2 separate regions of the Homo sapiens genome follow, and region 1 is linked to region 2. The links are contacts of gene promoters, found by promoter capture Hi-C in human tissues and cell types (Jung and others, 2019). All regions are on one chromosome and are shown on one strand. The core of a region is centred on a gene start or on the middle of the fragment in contact, and the rest is flanking DNA. Distances in the headings are between cores, read along the strand shown.

Region 1 (3,155 bases), core at 19-2,518, 100 kb before region 2:
AGTAGTGACTTTTTATTAGGCTAAAACCTGATTAACTTTTAAATTTTATTGGAGTAAAACCTGATTAATTTTGCCTTGACCTACTTAAATAGTTAAAATGTGTAGTTTAAACATGCATTTCTTAAGGAACTTCAGGTGCTTTATATTAGGTGTTAAGTATCTTATAGTCAACCTCATCACCCTTAATTTCTTCATTTGTAAAATGAGAATAAAATGCCATCCATTATGGAAAATAGGAACACAGACTCAAAATTTAAAATACAACTTTATCAGTTTCTAAGAACAGTATGCAGGAAGAGGGAGTATATGCATATAGCTTGAAGAGTTTAAACTTCCTCGACTTATGGACCCATCAAAATTATTGGCTTTTGAGACAATTCGAGACCCTTTCTGGGAAGGAATTGGGTTAGTTAGCAGAGGTGGGGAGACTTTGTGACATTCAGGTAAGGGAGAAGAGTTGAAGTCCTCTGGCATTCTGCAGAGAAGAGATCTTGAAGTCAGTAACACACCTCAGAAGCTCTGTGTAAAAAGTACTGATAACAAGCTTTTGGAAGAGTTACAGTATTTGTCCAGCAGTGAGGGGCAAAACATAAGGGTCTTCACAGACTTTTCCTTCAGCTCGTAGTTGTCATTAAACATGTAACTCTGTCTATTGTGGTGGCAGGTTTCTTCACAATCTCTTAGGGTAGTTTTGAGTATTCCAGAAAATAACCCACGTAAGATACCTGGCACACACTTGGCACCTAGGCTGAGATCAGTATTAGTACCTTGCTTTCATTTTCTCCCTATAACCTAGAACCATTTCAGGAAAAGCAGAATGCCATTGAGCAGTTTATTTTCTTTGAATGTTCTTACTGCCCTTTTCTATACTCCGGTATCATGAGATCGTGACATTCGTTCACTCATTCACTAACAGTTCACTGTTCCCTTGTGAGTTGGAACAGAAAAGTGGTGGAAGCAGTGACTTAGTCCTTTCATTTAGGATTCTGCTGGGCATCGTTCATCATTTAGGATTCTGCTGGGCATTGTTCGGGAAAATAGACATTTTTAAAACTCGTTTCACTTTTTTTTAACATGGTGACTATTCATTTTTCTGCCTCTTAGGTTAATATTTCAGAAAAATACAGATAATGGAAAACATTTGAAATCGGAAATTATACAAAATATTTAGTTTCAGCATTTGTGTACACATTGCCAGGTTGGAAACAAGAGAATATAAGAATGGAAGCCCTCTTGAATGGTACAAAAAAATTCAAGATGCTAAGCTGCTAAGTTCTGGGTTAATTGAAAAAAAAAGAAAAATTCAAGTCGCAATGTGTAAAACACAAATTGTAACTGTAGTAGCATTAAAGTTAGTAAATTAGGAATGTATATGCTAAAACATGCTATTTGTCATTTAGAAAAAGGCTGGGATTGGTATGTGTGTGAAGGTTTCCAGTATATTCTTTATCAACAAGCAGAAGCCTTAAAGAACCTTGGAGTAGGCCCAGAGTTAAAGGTAAGTACATTTGTGACTAGATGTTAGCTTTACATATTTTTGTTTAAAGAACAGTAAGACTTATAGTGGAACTAAGGAGAAATCAGTAGTAACACTAGGGCTACTGGAAGAATAATTTTTCTGATGTTTTTGCTTTAATCCTTTTAGTAGGTTAGCAGTTCTGGAAGTGTGTTCTACAGGATGTAAATAAGCAATACATCCAAAAGAAAAATTTAAAGGTTTTAGTCTTCAGATACTTAGGAAACAACAGGTTAAACAAAGTAAAACTCAAATAACTTTGGGGGTTTATTAGTACCTTTTGTGTGTTAATGTGCTTGTTTAATTTCCAGGGAATGTCCTGTGTGTTATTCACAATTTGAGAACAAAATCGTTTGGTGTATGTACATAACGTCCATCAGGACTTGAGTTCCACAGAATGCACTTTGGACAGCGATATGCTAAACCAGTCGTTCACCTGAGTGCATCAGAATCACCTGGAGTGCTTGAAAAAACACCAATCACTGGACCTTAATCCCCGAATTTCTGAGTTAGTATGTCTGGAGTAGAGCCCAAGAATGTGCATTTCTAACAAGTTCTTATGGGACACCCATGCTTCTGGTCTGGGGACCACTCTTTGACTTTGCTGCCTTCCTGGAGCAACACAGTATTTCTGCAATTATTTGAATTTCATATTCCTTCATCTAGTAAAAGTCATTTAAGGAATGCTTTAAAAAGCCAGTTATTTAGCAACAAGTTGTTCACTTGCTTCATATGCTTCATTGGAAACCAAGTGTTGAGAGGTCCAGCCTAGTTGGGGAGAGGGATTTATGCATATGTGAAATGAATAGACATGAATTTATATGGTGATATGCTAAGTGATTTTTTTTTTTAAGAGACGGAGTCTCGCTCTGTTGCCCAGGCTGGAGTGCACTGGCATGATCTTCGCTCACTGCAACCTCCACCTCCCGTGTTCAAGCAATTCTCCTGTCTCAGCCTCCCGAGTAGCTGGGACTACAGGCACACACTGCTATACCCAGCTAATTTTTTCTATTTTAGTATAGATGGGGTTTCACCATGTTGCTCAGCCTGGGCTCAAACTCCTGAGCTCAGGCAATCTGCCCATCTCGGCCTCTCAAAGTGCTAGGATTATAGGCATGAGCCCCAGCACCTGGCCCTCATAAGTGATATTAAAGGCAAAAAAAGAACAGAGAAAGATCAACATGGGCTGCAGTCACCAAGGAAAGATTTGTAGAGGAGCCTTTGCTGTTCAAACTGGTGGTTGGGGCAAGTCCAAACAGAACAACCACGATTTCAGTGCATGGCCTAAATGGATGCTGGGCCTACCCTGAAAGGCGTTAAGAATTAAAAATTCAGAAGCATGAAGCAACAGAGGCTAACCCATAATAGTCATTGCATTAGGTATGATAGCTGATAGTGGGGGGGTTGTGATCTGATTTCTGCTTACATAGTCATTTTATGTATAAATGTTTAGAAACAGTTTTATATAGTTACACTATATAGCTGTAGCAGGGTTTGTTCCTATGTAGCTTTATGCTCACCTCATTAGGGGTTAATTCTGAAAACAATTTTTCTGAAATTAGCCAATGAGCATAACTGTTTAGACCTGATCAGTTGAGTGGCATTATGCCATGTACACAGGCTCCAGAATCAGAACTGA
Region 2 (3,508 bases), core at 1,009-3,508:
GAGAGTCGCTTGAACCCAGGAGGCAGAGGTTGCAGTAAGCTGAGATCACGGCACTGCACTCCAGCCTGGGCAACAGAGGGAGATTCCGCCTCAAAAAAAAAAAAAAAAAAAAAAAGGAAAAGAAAAAAATAATAAATGATTTAAACAGGAAACTAGTGGTAAGAACAAACAACAGGCTGCATGGATCCAGTGCTGGGCCCGGGGTCAGAGGACAGAAACTGCGAAGGGCGGTCTCAAGTGAGGCTGCCGATTCCGGTCCCTGAAGGCCTTGGACCAGGGCACAGAGGAGGGACTGCTGGCTGCAGGAGGGCCCTGTGACCTCATGCTGCTCCTCACTTCACCTCCTTCCCTTGGCTTCCACGCTTCCATTGCTTCCGACCTCGGTGTCCCCGTCTTCTGTCTCCTCCACTGGCTCTTCCTCCCAGCCTTTCTGTGTCGGAGGCTCCTGGATCCAGCATGGGTCCCATCCTCTTTCCTTCCTGCCTTCTCATGGCTTTAAATGGCCTCTAGACGTGGGCGGCGCCCAGATGTGAGCTTCAGCCCAGACTTCTCCCTTGCACTCCAGCCTCGTACCCAGGAGCCCACCTGATTCATGGATTTTTATCTCCCATACATCTTGAGCTTAGCACGTCCAAAACAGACTCTCGTTCTCCCCCAAATCTTCTATGCCCCAGGTCTTCTGTATCCCAGGGGATGGCAAATCATTCCTCCAGTTGCCCAGCTGGAAACGCTGTAGTCATCCTTGATTCTCTCTTTCTCTCACACCCCATATCCAATTTTCAGACAATCCTGCTGGTCCCACCTTCAAAGCATATCCAGAATTCGGCCACTTCCCACCACCTCACTCTATTGCCCTCGGCCTGCATCATGGCAATGGCCTCCTACCTGGTCCCCACCACGCAGCAGCAGAGAACTATTTTAAAATGTGAGACCCTGTCACTACCCTGCTCCAAGCCCCTCCAAGGCGTCCCCACCTAGCCCAGAGGGAAAGCCACAGTCCTTACGGAAGCCGGCAAGGCCCTGCTCAATCCGCTCCCCTGCGCCCACTATCTCTGACCGCAGCTCCCGCCTCCCTGTGCCCCACCAGCCACCCGGGTCTCCTCAAGGGTCACAAAACACACCAGGGTCCCTGCCTCAGGTACAGTCCCACCTTCGTGGCCCCTCATCTCCTTCAAGCCTGAAAGCCTCGCTCCTCCCCGCCTCCCCAGGGCCTGCCTGCTTTACCTTCCAACCAGCCACACCATTTACTTGTTTTTGTATTGCCCGTTACCCCAACTAGGAAGGCGAGGAGTTGTGTCTGTTCTGTTGACTGCCCTGTCCCCGGCGTCTGGGGCCGCGCCTGTCCGAGGGTCAGGTCCGACGCTGGGCATGTGGGGACTCAGTGAGCGGACCCTGGGAAAGACGGCAGCTCGGGAAGGACAAGTGGGGGCCGTCGCGGTGGAGTGGTGCCCGGGGCCGGCCCGGGGCGCGCGACTGCACGGGCAGCGTGGGGCGGCCGCGCGGGGAAGTGGCGCCCGGGAGGCTGCGGGGCACAGACATCGCGGAGCCCCAGGGACTGCCGCCGAGGGGACCGCGGGAGCTGCGAGGGCAAGAAATCCTAAAAGCGCGCGGCCGCGGTGGGCCAGGAGAAGGGACATTCCGGAGACGGCTCTCGGGGGAAGCCACGGGACTCGGGCGTGACAGCCTGCGAGAACCGAGAGGTGAGACGCGCGACCGGGGAGCGCGGCGACCGGCAGAGGCGCCCCCGCCGGGCGAGCGCAGGGGCAGCGCGGGGCGCTGGGGCCGGAACAGCGGGCAATGTGGGCACGGGGCGCGGAGGCCTGAGTGAGCGAAGAAGGAGGCGGCTGTACGGCCGGGGCTCGTCGCGAAGGGGATGGCCGGGGACGGCGGGGACGGCGGGGGCGGCGGGGGCGGTGGCGGGGCGCGAGCGGGGGCGCTCTCGGTGCGCGCGGAGGTTGGCGGGTGCGCGCCGCAGCCGCAGCGCTCCCTCTCCTGTCAGGGCAGGCGCGTACGGCCGCGAGTCGGGCGCGCAGCCCCGGGAGCGCAGTCCCGGGCGCAACCTCGCGGAACGCGCGGCCCCCGCCCCCCGCCCCGCGCCGCTCGTCCCCGTCAGCCCCGCCCCGGCGCTCTTCTCGCCGACCAATCAGGAGGCGCGACCGGCCTCCCAGCCCCGAGGCCTCGCCCCCAGCCGGCGCATCGCCAGCCAATGAGCGGCCGAGCCCGGCGCCCAGTGCGCGCAGCCCGCGCGGAGCCGGCTCAGAGCGAGAAAAGCAAACCCAACCCGTCGGGGCCGCCGCTCCGGACCCGCAGCCGCCGCCGCCGCCTCCTCCCCCCGGATCGGGTGTACTGTCCCAACCCGAAAGTCCAGTTCTGCGGCCCGGCAGCGGCGAGCGGGCGCGATGACACAGGAGTACGACAAGTGAGTGAGGCGCAGGAGTCCGGCCGCCGCGGGGGGGCCGCGCTGAGGGGCCGCACCTGCAGCGAGCGAGCCGGGCGCAGACCCGAGGCCGCGCGGGCGGGCGGGCGCGGGGCGCGAGCCGGGGGCCGCTGTCCACTCCACGCCGCCACGGCCTTTGCCCCTTAGCCCTGCCGTGCTCTTTGTTCGGTCGGAGCCTCGGGAGGAGAGACCCTGTCCTCGGGGAAACTCGACACCGGAGGGGCCACCCTCCTCCCCTCCTCCGCGGCCAGGTTGGGTCCCCTCGGGCGCGCACCTTGGGGTCCGGGCCCCCGGCGCGGTCGGGTGCGGCGCGAGGTCGGGGCGCAGCCAACGCCCCCGGGCCTCCCCGCCCCCCTCTCCTGCCCGGTCGGCCTCGGGAGCCTGGTGGGGCTCGCGCCGCGTCGGGACAGGTGGACTTCTCCAGGTAATCTGTGGTCTCAGGCTCGTCACTCGGCGACCTGCTGGAACCTCCAAAACAGAAATGTAGGGAAAGGTTGAAGTGCCCCGATGTCCGGGCGTTTTCTTTTCCCTGGCTGGCGGCATGAGTGGGAAAACGGCTGTAGGAGTTATTTTGCCACTTGCATCATTGATGGTAATTACAGATTACCGTGTTTTTAGTGCTCGAGAGAATCAAGAGGATGAAACTTTGAAATCCGGGTGTTAAACGAGAAAGTACTGTACAAGCTAATATGCTTTTTAGAGTGTGTGATTTAAAAGCGTATTTCGACAAATGTGAGGTGGTAGTGTAATAAGGCATGGGGGATTAACTGGGCGAGGGAGTTTTCTGTATTTTCTTTGCAGCTTTTCTGAAAATATAAAATTGTCCTAAAAATTTTAAAAACTTACTAAAGAAAAAACAGGGAAATCGCACCAGGCCAGTCAGTATATTTCAGATCAGGAAGTTTAAGGCAGATAGGTACCCCTCCCAGTTTCTTAGTTATTTGTGAAGGATCGGTTTTTGTCAGTGTGTTCTTTTTCTGGATGAGATAGATATTTTGTATGGAGTATCTTAAATGGATTACTCTTATGTTGTAGAATATGCAGTTAAATTATTGCCTGAAACATATTTCA

Evidence for each region. Contacts are between HindIII fragments. The study calls those that stand out against the background at their distance.
Region 1: a fragment that was not itself captured here is called in contact with the fragment with the promoter of GRHL1 in region 2 in 2 of the 25 tissues and cell types used here (IMR-90 fibroblasts and bladder).

The regions. Positions count from the first base shown.
Region 1 is chr2:9,850,141-9,853,295 of GRCh38, forward strand. It overlaps TAF1B (TATA-box binding protein associated factor, RNA polymerase I subunit B), which reads left to right. Exons shown (of 15, transcript NM_005680.3): 4 at 1,401-1,498. Among named protein-coding and RNA genes, the nearest start is that of TAF1B, 8.2 kb to the left of the region's middle. The HindIII fragment of the contact is 6,134 bases long and covers 1-3,155 here.
Region 2 is chr2:9,949,435-9,952,942 of GRCh38, forward strand. GRHL1 (grainyhead like transcription factor 1) reads left to right here and starts at 2,259. Exons shown (of 16, transcript NM_198182.3): 1 at 2,259-2,419. The coding sequence starts at 2,400. It overlaps LOC105373422 (a long non-coding RNA gene), which reads right to left and starts at 1,419. Exons shown (of 3, transcript XR_922784.4): 1 at 1,271-1,419. RefSeq lists silencers at 1,490-1,569, 1,720-1,769, 1,870-1,919, 2,010-2,549. The HindIII fragment of the contact is 17,390 bases long and covers 1-3,508 here.